Linked DNA regions of Homo sapiens: all the other regions are linked to region 3. The links are contacts of gene promoters, found by promoter capture Hi-C in blood cells and fetal thymus (Javierre and others, 2016). All regions are on one chromosome and are shown on one strand. Each heading gives the region's core, a stretch centred on a gene start or on the middle of the fragment in contact. The rest is flanking DNA. Distances are from core to core; before and after follow the strand shown.

Region 1 (2,700 bases), core at 26-2,525, 400 kb before region 3:
TCTCAACATTGTCTTCTAATCCATGAACATGGGATATGTTTCCATTTATTTGCATCTTTTTAAGTTTCTTTCAGTAATGTTTTGTGGGTTTTGCTGCAGAAGTCTTTTACCTCCTTGGTTAAGTTAATTCCTAAGTATTCTACTTGATGCTATTATAAATTAAATTGTTTTCTTAATTTCATTTTTAGATTGTTCATTGTTAGCATATAGAAATGCAACTGATTTTGCATGTTTACCTTAGATTCTGTAACTTTGCTGACTTCATTTATTAGCTCTAATAAGTTTTTGTGGAATCTTTAGGGGTTTCTACATATGAGATTATGTTATCTGTGAATAGAAATAGTTTTACGTCTTTTTTTTCCATTCTGGATGCCTTTTATTTCTTTTAATTTTTTTCTTGCCAAATTGCTCTGGCTAGAATTTTCAGTACAATGTTGAATAGAAGTGGTGAAAGTGGTCACCCTGGCCTTATTCCTGACCTTAGAGGGAAAAATTTCAGTCTCATCATTATGATGTTAGCTGTGGATTTTCACATATGGTTTTTATTATGTTAAGGTAGTTTCCTTCTATTCCTAGTTTGTTGAGAGTTTTTAATAAGGATGTTGAATTTTGTCAAATGCTTTTTGTATCAATTGAGATCATGTGATCATGTGAGTGTTATTTCTTCATTCTGTTAATATGCTCTTTTACATGGATTTATTTTTGTATGTTGAACCATCCTTGCATTCCAGGACTAAATCTCACATGGTCATGATATGTAATACTTTAACTATGTTTCTGAACTCAGTTTGCTATTTTGTTGAGAATTTTGCATCAGTTTTCATAAGGGATATTGGTCTGTAGTTTTCTTGTAGTCTTTGTCTGGCTTTAGTATCAGAGTAATGCTCTCCTCATAGAATGAGTTAGAAACCTTTCCCCTCCTCTTTAATTTTTTGGGAAAGATTGAGAAGGATGGGAGTTTATTCTTTAAATATTTGGTAGGATTCATTGGGGAAGCCATCAGGTCCAGGCTTTTCTTTGTTGAGAGTTTTTTGATTACTGATTCAATCTCCTCACTAGTTATAGGTCCATGAAGATTTTGTATTTCTTTGTGATTTAGTTTTGGTAGGTTTCGTGTTTCTCAGAATTTGTCCATTTCATCTAGGTTATCCAATTTGTTGATACACAATTGTTCACAATACTCTCTTATAATCCTTTTTATTTCTGTAGAATTGATAGTCATGTCCCTATTTTCACTTCTGATTTCAGTAGTCTTCTCTCTTTTTTACTTAGTCCATCTAGCTAAAGGTTTGTCAATTCTTAAAATCTTTTCAGAGAAGCAACTTTGATTTAATTGATTTTTCTCTATTGTTTTTCTATTCTCTATTTTGTTGGTCTCTGCTGTGGTATTTATTATCTTCTTTCTTCTGCTAGCTTTGGGTTTAGTTCTTTTGCTAGTTCCTTAAGTGGTAAAGTTAGGTTATTTACTGGAGATCTTTCTTGTTTATTAATGTAACAATTTATAGGGAGGGAGTGGAGCAAGATGGCCAAATAGAAGCCTCCAATTGTCCTCCCCAACAGGAACACCAAATTTGAGAACTATCTACACAAAAAAGCACCTTCATAAGAACCAAAATTCAGATAAGCAATCACAGTATCTGCTTTTAACTTTATATTGCTGGAAGAGGCACTGAAGAGGGCAAGAGAGACAGTACTGAATCACTGACAGCACTGTGCCTCCCATCCCCCAGCTATGTGGCATGGAGAGAGAATCTGAGAGCTTGGGGGAGGGAAAGTGCAGTGCTTTGGGACTGTCCATCGAGCTCAGTGATTCCCTGTTGCCACAGAAAGCAGAACCAGGCTAAATTCAGCCCACACCCAGCACAGAGGGAGCATTTAAACCAGCCCTAGCCAGAGGGGAATCACATATCTCAGGGGTCAGAAACTGAGTTCCAGAAAACCTTGCCACCACGGGCTAAAGTGCTCTGGGGTTCTAAATAAACTTGTAAGGCAGTCTAGGCCACAATAACTGCAATTCCTAGGCAAGTCCTATTGCTGAGATGGGCTCAGAGCCAGTGGATGTGGGGGGCACACAACCTAGTGAGACACCAGCCAGGGTGGCTAACCCCAGGCAGCACAGCTCACAGAAACAAAAGTGACTCTTTTCCTCTGCTTAAAGAGAGGAGATGGAGCAGTAAAGAGAACATTGTCTTGCATCTTGGATACCAGCTCAACCACAGTAGGAGAGGACACTGGGCAGAGTCAATGGGCACACATTTCAGGCCCTGGCTCTTGGACATTTCCAGACACACCCTGGGCCAGAAGGGAATCCACTGCCTTGGAGGGAAGGACCTAGTCTTGTCAGAATTCATCATCAGCTGACTAAAGAGCCCTTGGACCCTGAACAACCAGCAGTGCCAGGTAGTATCCTGTGGGCCTTGAATGAGATTCTGAAATATACTGGCTTCAGGTACCAGCTTGACCACAGTGGGGTAGAGCACCAAATGGGCTCTTGGGGTCCCTGATTCCAGGCCTTGGCTCTTGGACAGCATTTCTGGACCTGCTCTAGGCCAGAAGGGAGCCCACTGACCTGAAAGGTGAGTCCACAGCCTAGAAGCCTTCACCACAAGCTGACTGAAGAGCCCTCAGGCCTTCAGTGGACAACCATGGTAGCCTGACAGTACTGCCTATGGGCCTGTAGTGGTGGTGGCCACAGGGAGA
Region 2 (2,700 bases), core at 63-2,562, 440 kb before region 3:
AGTGTCACATGAGTTATGGGTCTCCTGGCGGGGCGGAGAGTCACCGCTGAGCTCCACCTTTAGTCCCTGCCTCAGGGCTGTGTGCAGTATCCTGAAAAAAGCCGGTCTCTTCTGTTGGCTGCCCCCCACCCCCCCCCCAAGCCTGAGACGTGCTGAGACCCAAATGCCAGTAGCGGGCGGGAGGCAGTGCAGAGACCTGTGAAAATCTTCCGATGTGACCAACCCACCCCCACCCAGGGGAATCCACGGGGCGCAGCGGCAGCGCGGTCTCGACGGTGGGGAGGACAAGGCGCCCATTCTCCAAGTTACTAGGGTGGCGCAAGCGCCTCTCCCTTTAACTGCCCAGGCAGCCCCGCCTGCTATGCCCGGCAGTCAAACCAGGTCCAGACCCCGGCTGTGCCGCCCCCACCCCCCAGCAGCCCTGCCGGCTCCCCACCCACACAGCTCCCACTGGGAGGTACCTGACAGTGGTGGTCCCATCTCACCCTCCCGGTCCAAGGGCCCTGGTGGGAAGCGACCCGAGCGTATTCGCCGCCCGCAGCTCGCGCGCCTGGGCACCCGGGGGCGCTCACAGTGATCGCGGGGCCAGCACACCCTCACCCAGGACATCCCTTTCCTCCCCCCAACCCCAACTCCGGAGTGGCTCAGAGGGAGGGAAAGTAGATGCCGGCACCCTACCCCGCCCCTCCTGCCCCCGCTGTGCCGTTCTCGGTCGTGGTATCGGCCAGGCCTTACCCCTTCCTCCCTGGCGCAGCTGGGGTCCTCCTCCGGGCCAGGCAGAGCAGGCGGGCATCAGAAGTGGGGGCCAAGCAGGTGGGTGAGGGCAGGGCAGGAGCAAGCAGGGGAGATGCAGACGGGGCGGGGCCAAGCAGGTGGGTGAGGGCGGGGCCAAGCAGGTGGGCGGGGAGGGGGCGGGGCCAGGCGGGGTAAATGCACACTGGAACGGGGCCAAACAGGTGGGCGAGGAGGGGGCGGGGCCAAGCGGGATAGATGACACGAGCGGGGCTAAGCAGGTGGGCTCGGGCGGGGGTGGGGGTGGGGGCGGGGGCGCAGGCGGGGGCGGGGGCGCGGACAGGCCAAGCCAGGGGGTGAGGCGGAGGCAGGGCCAGGCCGGTCCGTGGGGAGAGGGCGGGCCAAGCCGGTGGGCGCGGGCAGGGACGCCCTGTGCGCGCCGGACCGGCGGGGGCGGGGCGTGCAGGCGGGGGCGGGGCACGCCGTCCCATGGGACCGGCCCTCGGCCACTGCCCCCTCCGGCCCCGCCCCGAGCGCCCGGGCTGGGCCGGCAGCGGCCCCCCGCGGCGGGGCTGGCAGCAGTGGCTGCCCGCACTGCGCCCGGGCGCTCGCCTTCGCTGCAGCTCCCGGTGCCGCCGCTCGGGCCGGCCCCCCGGCAGGCCCTCCTCGTTATGGCCGCGGCCTCCTCCCCGCCCAGGGCCGAGAGGAAGCGCTGGGGTTGGGGCCGCCTGCCAGGCGCCCGGCGGGGCAGCGCGGGCCTGGCCAAGAAGTGCCCCTTCTCGCTGGAGCTGGCGGAGGGCGGCCCGGCGGGCGGCGCGCTCTACGCGCCCATCGCGCCCGGCGCCCCAGGTCCCGCGCCCCCTGCGTCCCCGGCCGCGCCCGCCGCGCCCCCAGTTGCCTCCGACCTTGGCCCGCGGCCGCCGGTGAGCCTAGACCCGCGCGTCTCCATCTACAGCACGCGCCGCCCGGTGTTGGCGCGCACCCACGTCCAGGGCCGCGTCTACAACTTCCTCGAGCGTCCCACCGGCTGGAAATGCTTCGTTTACCACTTCGCCGTGTGAGTATCGCCACCGGCGACGGCCGGCACGAAGGTGCTTCCTGAGAGCTGGTGTGGGGGAGCTCTGTCCCAGCGCCACCTGCCCCGTCGGAGCTGCGACCCCGGAGCAGAGGAGGGAAGGAAGTGGGGAAACGCAGAAACACAAACTCTGCACTCTCCCTTGAAGTTCAGAGGCGCTGCTGTGTCTGGGGGTGCGCATCTTCTCGCAGGCCCGGCGTGGGGAGGGAGCCGGCTGGGGAGGGGACCACCTGGAGCCCAGAATTTGGCTCCACACCTCCGGGAGGGTAGTCCAGGTGTGAATCCTTCTGGGAAGAGAAGCGTGCTGGGGAGCGCACCCTTGGGTGCAGTAAGATAACTCCTCAAGGTCGGCTGAGACTCGAGGCTCAGGAGCCCCCAAGAGAGAAGGCCCCTGATGTCCGGTGCCGCATCTCAGACCCCCTGAGGCCCAGGTGGACTCTGGGGCAGGGGGCTGTCCAGGATAGGAAGGTGACGGTGGCGGTGCTCCCTGAGGGCTCAGCATGCCACGGGCCGTCCCCACGGGCCCCACATTAACTAATTGAACCAAGCTCATGAAAACCTGGCTTGATGCAGAGAGCGGAGAGGCACGTTTGCAGCTCTCACTAAGAGGCAGCTGTGCTCCCGGAGAAAGCAGCGCTGGTAGCAGAGGCACCTGGCCCCCCTGTTACCAGGTGGTTCCAATTCCCGGTACAGCGTGCCTGAGCAGGGCTGGGCACTGGATTTCTCAGGGACAGGCCTGGGAAGTCACCTCCGGGAAGGTCCAGGCTGCTCTCCTCCATGCCTGCCTGGGGCCTTCCCCCGCTGCCCCAGTGGCCCTACTTCCTGGCTGCCCAGCCAGCGGCCTTTTGGTGTGGTGCCAGCCTCTGGCCTGGGAGCCTCTACCCAGACATCCC
Region 3 (2,700 bases), core at 51-2,550:
CCGCGCGAAGCCGCTGGAGGGCACAACAACGGGGCGGGGAGGGGGGTAAGGGCGCAGCCGCGCCCTGAGCGCTGCGGGCCCTTTAATGCCACGGGAGGAGGCGGGAACCCAGCGAGGCCCCCGAGGGCTGGGGGGACCGGCCGGCCGGACAAAGCGGGGCCGGGCCGGGCCGGGGCGGGGCCGTGCGGGGCTCACCGGAGATCAGAGGCCCGGACAGCTTCTTGATCGCCGCGCCGTTGGCGCTGGCGGCCGCGGTGCCGGCCGCGGGACGTCCCGAAATCCCCGAGTGCAGCTGGTCAGCGAGAGGCTCCTGGCCGCGCTGCCCCTGGTTCGCGCCCTGCTCGGCGCTCTCTTGAGGCGCCGCGTCCGGGGCCGGGGCCGGGGCGGGGGCCGGGGCCGGGGCCGGGGCCGGGGCTGGGGCCGGGGCCGCGACTGGAGCCGGGGCCGGAGCCGGAGCCGGAGCCGGGGCCGGGGCCGGGGCCAGGACCGCGACCGCGACCGGAGCCGCGACCGGAGCCGCGACCGGAGCCGGAGCCGGGGCCGGGGCTGGAGCCAGGACCGGGACTGGGGGCGGGGTGGACGCCGGGGCCGGGACCGGGACACTAGGCAGCTGCTCCGGCGCCTCCTCGAGGCCGTCGAGGGACTCAGCGGCCGGCTCGAGGGGCGGGCTGACAGCCACCGCGACCGCGACGGGCCGCGGCGCCAGCAGCAGGCGGCAGCGCCCCACCTGCACCGTCTCGCGGTAGAACGCGGGCACCGAGTCGCTGTCCACTTCGGTCCACTGCAGGCGTCCAGGGCCCCGCAGCGGCATGTCCTGCTGGAAGTCGTAATCCCAGCGGTTCTGGTCCTCGGCGTTCAGCTCGGCCAGGCGGGCCTGCAGCTCGCGGCTCAGCTCCTCGTGGTCCACCGGCCCGAAGAGGCTGCGGCAGGCGCTGGTGCGCACTAGTACTGGGAAGGTCCCACGGGCGACAAGACGCTCCATCGTGGATGTGCTGCGGAGGGACGCGTCGGACATGGCCCGGGGCTGCGCAAACGCGGGCAGCGAGAGAGGAGAGGACAGCGAGAAGAAGGGGAAAGGAGAGGAGGAGAGGGCGGAGGCCGGGCGCAAGGGAGACCCCGCGCCGCCCGACTCTGCGTGTGCGAGGGACGCGGCGGCTACCTGGCTGTCCGGTGGTGGACTCTTCTGCGTCGGGTTCGCCTGTCTCGTCCGGACGGCAGCCGCGCCCCCTCGATGCCTGCTGGCTAGCTCGCTCGCTCAGGCCTGGCCGGCACCCCTCGAGCACAGCGCACTTGGCCTGTGGAACGCCCAGCCCGCCTGCGCCCCCTTTATACGCGCGGGCCCCACCCCCGTGCGCGCGGGCCCGGCCGCGATTAGCATAATGTAGTATTTTCAGTTTCAACAACACCACGGCGATTGGCGGCCGCCCCGCTGCCCCGCCCCGCCGCGGCCCGGCCCCCGCGCACCGCCCATTGGCCGCGCGCACACCCACCGGGGGCGGGGCGGGGCGCGCGGCCGGGGCGCGCGGCTGATTGGCGGCCGCGGGGCGAGCGCGCTGTAGCAGGGGAAGGGGGCGGTGAGCGGGGCGGGGGCGGGAGTTAAAGGGCGCTGCGGGCGGTAACGTGACACCGCGACGCCCGCCCCCTCGCCCCATCCCCCCTGCAACACTCCCCCACCCCCCCGGCTCCCGCCCCCCGCCGGCTCCTTTGTCTGCAGGCGGGGGCCTCAGCCCAGCGCGGCAGGGGCCGGCTCCTGGCGGGTCCGGTGTCCGGCCAGGCCCAACTCGACCCCGGCCCGGTCCGGACCCCGGCGCCCAGCTCCGTCCCGCGCTCGCCCGTGGGCCTCCTGCGCCAGCTGACGAGGCTTGGACCCGCCGCTGCCAGCTCGGCCCTGGCCTGCGCCGGATGGGGTCTTCGGCTGCCCCCGCGCGGCCTGCTGCTGCTGGGCTGGTGTCCCTTCGAGGGCTCCGCGCGCCTGGAGCCCTCACACACCTGCTGGCCCTAAGGCCCTCGAGTCGGGAGGGGGGACAGGGGTCAGCTCCACTCTTTCCCCGAGGGACCATGTGTGGGACACCTTGAGAGACTCCCACCAGCCCCCTGGAGCTGGAGTCTGAAGCCGCTATCTGCGGAGGCCCACCCTGCCCAGTAGATGGAACAGGGGCTGAGCCCATCATGTCACTGTCGGGGGTCCCAGCCCTTCTCAGCCTTGGGCCAGACCACTCCAGCCCCGGGATCTGCCTGTCCAGGCTGGCTGGAAGCTGTTGTACTGGGTAAAAGTGAAAGATCTGCCCGAGGTCATAGGGGAAGGGGCTGTGAAGGACCATGCCCCTCCCCCGCCTGCAGCCCTTCCTGGTACAGACCTCGGTCGTGCGCGCACGCACACACACACACACACACACACGCACGCACACACACGGTGCTTCACCCCAGCCAGGCCAGACCAAAAGAGACCATTATTTCCTGCTGCCTCCCTTTTGGCCCACCTACCATGAGGCAGGGAGCCCCCTCCTCAAACCAGGAGCCTCCCAGATCGGGATGGGGACTGTCAGACACCTGTTGGAGGGTCCAGCAGCCCATGAGATCTAAGCCCCTATCTCAGGTGAGCCTGTGAGCCAGCAGAGAGACCTCTGGGAGGGAGGGAAGGTGCGGTCCCCTGAACCCCAACCAGCCTGCCTTTGAGTCCCAAGACACCCCCACCCCCAT
Region 4 (2,700 bases), core at 157-2,656, 290 kb before region 3:
ACCATTTGTACATGGAATATTCATAGCAGCTTTATAAAAACTGGAAACCCCAAACTGGAAGCAACCCAAATACCCATCAACATTTGAATAGATTTTTTTCAAAGTTGTAGTATATTCCTAAAATGGAATACTACTTAGAAATACAAAGGAATGAACCACTGATATGCCTACAATATGGATACATTGCAACATAATTATGGTGAGTGAAAGAAGCCAGACAAAAAAAAAAAGAGTACATGGTATCTTATTTATGTAAAAATCTAGAAAATGACCACTAATATAGAGTGACAAACAAGTCAGTGGTTATCAGTGGTTACCTGGGGATCAGGGGTAGTAGTAGGAGGGAAAAGGACAAAAGGGCACAAAAAAACTTTTGGGGCAGTGGATATGTTCATTATCATAATCATGGCGATGGTTTCATCATGTGTCAAAAGTTACCAAATTGCACACTTTAAACATAAGCAAGTTATGTCAATTATATCTCAATAAAACTGTTTATAATATATAATGTAAATATATAATATATATTTTGCATAGCAAAAAAACATACTGAAAATAATTTTTTATTGATAACCTAAAGAAACCAGTTGCCACTCACCTATAGGCATGGGGCTAATTTAATTGCTATATAAAAACGCTCTTGTAAATCAAGATAGAAGTTAAAGGATATTAAAACAGTTCACAGAAAAGGAAATACCAATAATTCTTAAGAATGAAAATATGCTGGATGACTTCAATTATGACAAGAGAAATGCAAACTAAAGCAATGGGGTTTTTGAAACTTATCTGATTATTAAATATCAAAGAGTTTGATAACACTCTATGGGTATGTGTACATGGAAACTCTCAGTCTCAGTCATTGATGTTAGAAAAATAAATTGATACAAACCTCTGTGGAGATAAATAAGGCAATTTCAATCAAAATTAAAGATGCATATGCCTTTGAATCATTCTAGAAATTTATTCTACACATATCTTACACATTTGCAAAATAATCCATCATCAGGATATTGATTTCTGCAATTGTTAAATAGCAAAAAATTGCAAACCACCGACATACCCATCAGTGGAGGTCTGCTTCAAGTATCATATCTCCGTTAAACAGCCATCAAAACTGTGAAGCTTCACTCTCATCACTGATGCAGGACATCCCTGATATCTGATCCTAGAAATAACAGTACATCTTTCAGAAGAGTATGAAATCTGCCATCATGTGGGGGCAAATACAATGGTTTACAAAACAAAGTTTTATCTACCTTCCTTGTTCTGTGTCTTGGAACTGTTTGAAGAACATTGGGATTATCTTTTCTGTAGAGGTTAAATAGAATTGAGTTGTAAAACCATCTGGGCCTGATACATGTTTTATAGGATATCTTTAGTAATTTCTTTTTAGTCTGTTTTATGATATGTTGTTCTAAATTAGTTTATTGCATCTTTTGGAGTAATTTATTCATTGCTATTTAATTTCCTCAAGCATTTCAATTGTGTTGCCACTTGGTAGCAACTGATTTTTTCCTTTAGTGATTTTATGGTCTTCTCTATCATCTCTTCGTTTTTCTTTTCCTTTATGCCTGAACTTTTGTGGTTTTTCTCCTTTTTTCTTAATCAAGCACATGAGAAATTTATGTTTTATTTATATTTTATTATCAGAAAACTATCTTTGTACTCTTTGTTATCTATTTCATTAATCTAAGCTTTTATAGCTATTAATTCCCTTTTCTTGGCTAACTCTATTTTTGTTTTCTTTTACTTAAGAGTCATAGTTCATTTATTTGAAGTTCTTCTACTAAAGGCATTTTTAAAGGCTATAAATTTTCCTCTGATTGCAGCTTTAGCTGTGACACGTAGATCTGATTATGAAATATGTTCCTTTTCATTGCTTTCTTGATAGTTTTAATTTTGTGTTTTGATTTTTCTCTTTAGAGTTCTTTTAATGTCTTCTTAATTTTTAAGCAGTAAATTTTTATCACTGTTATTTATTTCTAATTTAGTAGGCTTACAGTGAAAGGATGTAGCCTATGAAGTCTCCACTTTTTTTAAAATGAAGATTTTCTTTGTCTCCAAGTATGAAAATAACATCATTATTTTTGTAAATGCTCCACAGACCTCAGAAAATATCTTCTGTATTTGTATAACACAAAGTTTTATTTGTATACATGGACAGACAAAATGTACATTGAGATGGATTGTGTATACATACTTATTCATTGCCTCATTTAGGTCTGCTCTGCCCTTAGTTAAAAAAAAAAAACCCTAATACATCTGCCAAATTCTGAGACAGGAAAATTAAATCTTCCTGTACAATTATGTTTCTAAAAATTGAGTGGCAGGTTTCATGGAGTGGTTTGGAGCACAGCCTATATGGCCAACCTTCTTTAGGGTCATAGCCCAGCTCTGCCATTTTCTTATGTGGCCCTAAGCAAGCTACTGCATTCTCTGTGCCTCAGTTTCCACATCTGTGAAATCAGGATCCTAACTGCCTGCTCCCAGGACTCCTGTGTTGACTGAGTGAGTTAGAACATGTAAGTGCTCACCCAGGACCCATATGCAGCAAACAGTCTTGTGTCTCTGTCTGCTGCCAAATTGGCCTCAGGCTCTATCAATACCAGATCTGAATAGGGGCTATTCTTTCTTTTAGTGTCCTTAATGTTGTATTACTTTCCAATATTCACACTTTAACTTTACAGATGAGTAGAATGG
Region 5 (2,700 bases), core at 1-2,500, 380 kb before region 3:
CTATTTCTCCCTTCGGTTCTGTAAATTTTTCCTTTGTGTCTTTTGATCGTTAGCTGTTAGAGGCATAAATGTTTATAATGGTTATCTGTAACATCTTCTTGCAGCCTCGAACCTTTAAGTGTGCAGCGTCCTCTTTTGTCTCTTGTGACCTTTCTAGGTTTATTATAAAACCATTTTTGGCTGATGTTAGTGTAGCCACTCTGCTTTTTGTGTTTGCCATTTGCATGGAACCTCTTTCTCCACTCTTTCCACCCTTTCACTTTCAATCTTTTTGTGTCTTTGGCTCTAACGCGAGTCTCTAGTAGACAGCATGTAGCTGGATCATGTTTATCTATTCTGCCACTGCCGATATCACCTTTTGATATACAGACTTTACATTTTCATAAAATTTAATTTGTCCACGTGCTTAGCCCCTGTGATCCAGCAATCCCACTGCTAGTTATATATCCAAAAAGAAAGAAAATCAGTCCAGCAGGGACAGATGCGCACTCCTACGTTTACTGCGGCACTGTTCACCGGAGCCTGTGCCTTCAATGTCGTATTCAAGAAATCATCCTCAAATCCAAAGTCTTTCTATTTTCTCCTATGTGTTCCTATTGCTTTAGGTCTTACATTTATACCTTTGACCCATATTGAGTTAATTTTTTATATCCAGCTTTATTCTTTTGCATGTAGATACTCAGTTATCCCACCATCATTTGTCGAAAAGACTATACGTGAACTTTTTGAATTTGCTTTTCTCACGTAATAGTATTTCCTAGAGACCACTACATATCAGTTCGTGGGGTCCTTCCATATTCTTTTTTACAGCCACCCCATACTTTATGGTTGGATGTGCCATGCTTATTCAAACCCTCTCCTATTTATGGGCATTTAGGTTGTTCTGATATTGTGCAATGATAAATAATGTTGCAAAGTATAGCCTTATACATATGTCTATTGTATTCTTGAAACAATGTTGCAAAGAATAACTTCGTAGGTATGGATGTTCCTATTGTTGGAGGTGTTATCTTCAGGGTAGATTCCTAGAAATGGGAGTGTTGGGCTGAAAGAGAAGCCCGTAGTTTTGTTGGATGTGACCAAATTTCCCTGCAGAACGGTTGCACATTTGCACTCCCCCAGCAATGCATGAGCATACCGGTTTTTTCTACAGTTGCGCCAGCAGCGTGCTGTCACACCACTTTTTGCCAGGTCCATAGCTTTGTTTTAATCTGTATTTCTGTAATTACATTGAATTTGAATGTTTTCCCTGTGTCTAAAAGTCATGTGTGTGTGTATTTGTAAATCGTCTGTCTTCTCATTTCCAACTTCTTCCATTGGGTTTTTGGTTCTTGGTCTCTCAATTTTTAAGTCATTTATATTGTGGGAACGTTTGTCTGGACTAATGTGAATTGTTTTCCCAGCTGGTCACTTGTCTTTGACTTTGCTTATGGTGCTTTTTGCTATGAGAAATTTCGCATGTTTATATCATCAAATTTATCATGCTTCTTTCTACTGACTCCGGATTCAGGGCCACAGTTGAGAGCTTTTTCCTCCACCGAGGTTAAGGGGAATCCACTGTGTTTTCTTCTGGAGGTTTGGGGTCTTGTCTTCAGCATTTAGCTCCTTGTCCGTTTGGAGTTTGCTCTTGTGCATGATCTAAGGTAATCTTTTCTCAGAGAGTGGCCTGAGACCTCTTCCTTAGAAGTTCACCCCACTGGCTGGGGCCTTCACGAGGCCCCTCTGGCCTCTAAGTGGAGCATGGAGTGTGGGGTCATCGGGCAGGACACGAGATGCGCAGGAGGCTGTGACTGAGGTGGCTGTGGGATGGGACGGCGTGGTTTGCTCTAGAGGGTTTGAAGGAAGGGTGAGAAGTCAGGACCACTGCTGTAGAAAACAGGGTTTGCAGGTAGATAAGGTGGCGGGTGCAGCGGGAGGAAGAGAAAAGGATGCTGCTGGGACCCCTCGCACCTGGGAGGATGCACTTTCTGTTTCTGACATGGGTCAGGGTTGGGGCGAAGGAGTCCAGCTGGGGACATGTTATTTTGGAGGTGTTTGTGAGGCAGCCAGGTGAGGTGGGTTGAAGGCAGTAAGACCTGCAGGTGGGAGCTCTGGGGAGAGAGTGCGGGCTGGGCTCACAAGTTAGGGGAGGTGTCAGTGTGTAAATGACATGAGCGCAGGGGCTAGACAGGGCCTCCTGTAGCCTGGGTGGGTGGAAGGGCAGAGGGCAAGGGCCAAGTGATGGCAGCTGTGGAGGCTGAGGGCAAGGAAGGCAAGTCCGGGAGGTTGGGTGTCCTGCAGCCTCCACAGGGGCAATGGAGGAAGAACAAAGGACTCTGTGTTGAGCCCTCCTGAGAGGTTTTGGAACTGGCCTTGACTTGGTGATGTGGGGTTATGAGTTTTATTCCACACACGTATGTGGGAGTCTGGGTCCTGGTGGGTCCCAGCCCCGTACATGGAGGCTGGGACCCTGCCCTGAAACCTCTCAGACACAAACACCCAGCTCGGCCCCACAGAGCTGGCCTGGGCCCCAGCAGGGGTCTGTGTTGCCTTGGCCCCACGGCAGTGGAGCTGGGGTTTCCCAGGGATGCTGCTGCTGAAGGTGAGGTTTGCAAACACTAGGCATGCATGTTTGAGGTACCACAACCTCCACCAACCCATGGTGGTCACCAAGGGTCTTTGGGCTCCTGTGGGGACCATACTGGCTTGTCTGACTTGCCG
Region 6 (2,700 bases), core at 1-2,500, 310 kb before region 3:
AGCAAGCCCAAGCTTGAGCCCAGCCTGGATGCTCCACCCCAGCCTGGTGCCAGTGACCCTGGCCTGCCAGGCTGATGGTGTGCTCACCTTCCTCTGAGCTGGGGGCAAATGAAGACAGAAAGTCAGAAATGAAAAACCCAGGCAAATCAAGGACCCGGTCAAGGCAGGGCCACCAGACTCCCTCCCGAGGGCTGCACTCAGATGGGTTCAGGCTGCACTGGCCCCTGGCTCTGTGGGGTGAGGGGACCCTTCCTCTCCCTGAGGATCTCCTGGGTCCTGGTCCATTCTTGGTTCTGTCACGTGGCAGGAAAGAGAGCTGGGCAATCAGTGGAGCCCGCGCCGGCCCAGACAGTGGGCCTAGGGCGACCCCAGGGCTGAGCCTCATTCTGGGGGTAACCCCCACCCGCCACTTACCGGAGTTGTGAGGAGTGGGCTATATTGAAGCCGGCCCTGTGCATGTGAACCGCGCTGGAGCGGCGTAGGACGCCCAGTGATCGCTGGGACTCGCTGCCTTAGGCGTCTGCACAGGAGGCTCCCAGCCTGCGGTTCCTGGAGCCCGACACTGTGTGTTTTCTGGCCTAGGAGCTGATAACCACCCTGTACATCGGCTTCCTGGGCCTCATCTTCTCCTCGTACTTTGTGTACCTGGCTGAGAAGGACGCGGTGAACGAGTCAGGCCGCGTGGAGTTCGGCAGCTACGCAGATGCGCTGTGGTGGGGGGTGGTAAGTCGGAAACTTCCAGGCATGGGGACAGGGGCAGCTCAGGCTGAGGAGTGGGCAGGACATCTGGGCACTGGTGTCTTGAGACTTCGGGCCTTGGCAGGGGCTTCTCACCTGCACGCTCACAGGCCTCTGTCCACAAACCTGTGCTTGGAGCCGCTGGCACAGGTCCCCACGCTCAGTGTTGAGTCCTTTGGCATCACCATCTTGAAGTTCTGAATGGTCTCATCCTTGAACTTGAGATTTGAGAGGGAAATCGGAGGGGTCACTGGAGCGTGTGTTGGGGGCTTAGCGGTTTCGGCTCCCCCATGGCTCTGCCTCCCGCCATCGTCCTAGGTTGCCCATTCCCTGCCTCCACCGTGGCCCTCACCCTGGCAGGGCCCAAGGAGAGCGGCGTCAGATGCATACCTCGCGTGTCTCTGAGGGTCCACACAGGCCCTGTAAGTGCCCCTGTCCCCAAGGAGCCAGACATGAGACAGCAAACAGGAAAGACCATGATGGCTCAAGAGACCCCAGCAGAGATCAGAGAGCCCCCGTGTTTCCAGTGGATGCTGGGCCTGCAAGTTCTGGAGCCGGGCCTGGGCAGTGGCGACATAGGTGCAGCTGGGCCTAGGGAAGCAGGGACCCGGCCTGTGGGCCCAGAGGCTGCCCCTGGCTGTGAAGGTGGGTTCCGGCCACCTAGAGCAGCCCGGGAGCCTTGGGGAAGCCGGTGTGCAGCAGGCAGATCCCGCACTGGAACACCGAGCCACCCAAAGCTCAGAGAGGCTGTGCGGGAGGGGTGGGGCAGGGTGTCTTGGGCCGTGTCTGTGGGGGCTTCCTTGAGGGACTCAGGCTTGCACGTGGGAGAGGGAGATGTTCCGATGAGGATGCAGCTGCAGGAATCAGGGTGCGCCCTCCGAGCTGCAGGCTCCCCAAGTCCCAAGTCACTGGCCTGTGGGCCCAGCAGCAGTTTCTCATGGCTCAGAGGACGCTGGCTGAGGCATTTTTAGGGGGCAGGCCTAGCTTGCCAGTGTCCCTCTGGGAGCTGGTGGCTGCCTTCAAATCCTCCAGTGAAAGTCGGCGTTTATATATGCATGGAGCTCAAGGGCTGCTTCTAGGGGGAACACGTGGGTACCCCGAGGGGAGTAGCTGGCTGGAGGCCAGAGTGCAGGGAGGGAATGACTCCATCCCATCTCCCCCCACAGCTGCAGGGCCAGGTGGGCCGTCCACAGGCCACTAAGGCCCAGGGTGGCACCATCACACCTTGGGGAGTGGCCCTGGGTGGGGACCGAGAAGCCCAAGTGCCGAGGTGACAGGGTGACCCCTACTCTGCCGCCACAAGCCTGCCCCCGCGTCTGCCCTTGTCTACCGACCTCCGGGCTCACTCAGTCCGATAACAGGTTAGATGGAATCGTGGTAGCAACAGGGGCTGGGGGCTGGGGAGGAGGCCGTCGAAGCCCACACAGGGTGGGAGCCAAGGCCTGGGGGCCGCACGGGGGCTGGAGGTGGGGGCGGGCAGGGCAGCCGTGGGAAACACGTGGTGGTGCCAGGACCCAGTCCGTCTGCCCCGAGTCCTCCTTCCAGAAAGGACCGGACTTGCTGGCTCTCGGGACCCCCCACCACCATCAGAGCATATCTGGGTGGGGTGAGAAGCCTCCCGGTGGCTCCCCAGGCAGGCACGTGTCCCTGCGATTGCTGTGCCTCCTCCCTCCCCCTCAACCGCCGCTTCCCCCATGAGGCCAGACACTCAGCAGTGGCTCCTGACGTAGGCCAAGTCAGCAGGTTTTCTGGAAGCTTCCAAAGTGCTGCAATGCTCAGGGATGGCAGGGGCATGCTGACACAGCTCCTGGGTTGGGGCAGGCCCCACTTTCGGCCTCTTCCCGCCTTCCTGGGGGCCTGTGTCCCCGAAGGCCCCAGTGTGGCAGGCCTGAGCAGGTTTGGGCAGCAGGGCCCAGCCCCCCTGCGGGAGCCTGCCTGCAGTGAGTGTGGATGGGTAGGGCG

What was found. The method cuts DNA at HindIII sites, captures the fragments that hold promoters and counts their contacts. A CHiCAGO score of 5 or more calls a contact.
Region 1: a fragment that was not itself captured here is called in contact with the fragment with the promoter of CDKN1C in region 3 in 3 of 17 cell types (M0 macrophages, naive CD4 T cells and M1 macrophages); the score reaches 5.3 in M0 macrophages.
Region 2: the fragment with the promoter of KCNQ1 here is called in contact with the fragment with the promoter of CDKN1C in region 3 in 17 of 17 cell types (neutrophils, M0 macrophages, M1 macrophages and 14 more); the score reaches 15.7 in neutrophils.
Region 4: a contact is called between a fragment that was not itself captured here and the fragment with the promoter of CDKN1C in region 3, in 4 of 17 cell types (M1 macrophages, M0 macrophages, erythroblasts and 1 more). The highest score is 6.9, in M1 macrophages.
Region 5: a contact is called between a fragment that was not itself captured here and the fragment with the promoter of CDKN1C in region 3, in 9 of 17 cell types (erythroblasts, M1 macrophages, M0 macrophages and 6 more). The highest score is 10.2, in erythroblasts.
Region 6: a fragment that was not itself captured here is called in contact with the fragment with the promoter of CDKN1C in region 3 in 2 of 17 cell types (erythroblasts and M0 macrophages); the score reaches 7.4 in erythroblasts.

The regions. Positions count from the first base shown.
Region 1 is chr11:2,487,475-2,490,174 of GRCh38, forward strand. The region is part of intron 1 of KCNQ1 (potassium voltage-gated channel subfamily Q member 1); the gene reads left to right. Among named protein-coding and RNA genes, the nearest start is that of KCNQ1, 44 kb to the left of the region's middle. The HindIII fragment of the contact is 3,569 bases long and covers 1-2,700 here.
Region 2 is chr11:2,443,696-2,446,395 of GRCh38, forward strand. KCNQ1 (potassium voltage-gated channel subfamily Q member 1) reads left to right here and starts at 1,313. Exons shown (of 16, transcript NM_000218.3): 1 at 1,313-1,789. The coding sequence starts at 1,404. TRPM5 (transient receptor potential cation channel subfamily M member 5) reads right to left here and starts at 819. Exons shown (of 29, transcript NM_014555.4): 1 at 736-819. RefSeq lists silencers at 1,113-1,222, 1,233-1,302. The HindIII fragment of the contact is 13,739 bases long and covers 1-2,700 here.
Region 3 is chr11:2,884,475-2,887,174 of GRCh38, forward strand. It overlaps CDKN1C (cyclin dependent kinase inhibitor 1C), which reads right to left and starts at 1,301. Exons shown (of 4, transcript NM_001122630.2): 1 at 1,160-1,301; 2 at 196-992. The coding sequence starts at 982. RefSeq lists enhancers at 291-1,126, 1,127-1,962, 1,963-2,700. The HindIII fragment of the contact is 9,568 bases long and covers 1-2,700 here.
Region 4 is chr11:2,596,371-2,599,070 of GRCh38, forward strand. The region is part of intron 10 of KCNQ1 (potassium voltage-gated channel subfamily Q member 1); the gene reads left to right. Among named protein-coding and RNA genes, the nearest start is that of KCNQ1OT1, 100 kb to the right of the region's middle. The HindIII fragment of the contact is 572 bases long and covers 1,121-1,692 here.
Region 5 is chr11:2,505,593-2,508,292 of GRCh38, forward strand. All of the region lies in intron 1 of KCNQ1 (potassium voltage-gated channel subfamily Q member 1), which reads left to right. Among named protein-coding and RNA genes, the nearest start is that of KCNQ1, 62 kb to the left of the region's middle. The HindIII fragment of the contact is 3,057 bases long and covers 1-2,700 here.
Region 6 is chr11:2,572,264-2,574,963 of GRCh38, forward strand. It overlaps KCNQ1 (potassium voltage-gated channel subfamily Q member 1), which reads left to right. Exons shown (of 16, transcript NM_000218.3): 6 at 583-723. Among named protein-coding and RNA genes, the nearest start is that of KCNQ1OT1, 130 kb to the right of the region's middle. The HindIII fragment of the contact is 2,481 bases long and covers 11-2,491 here.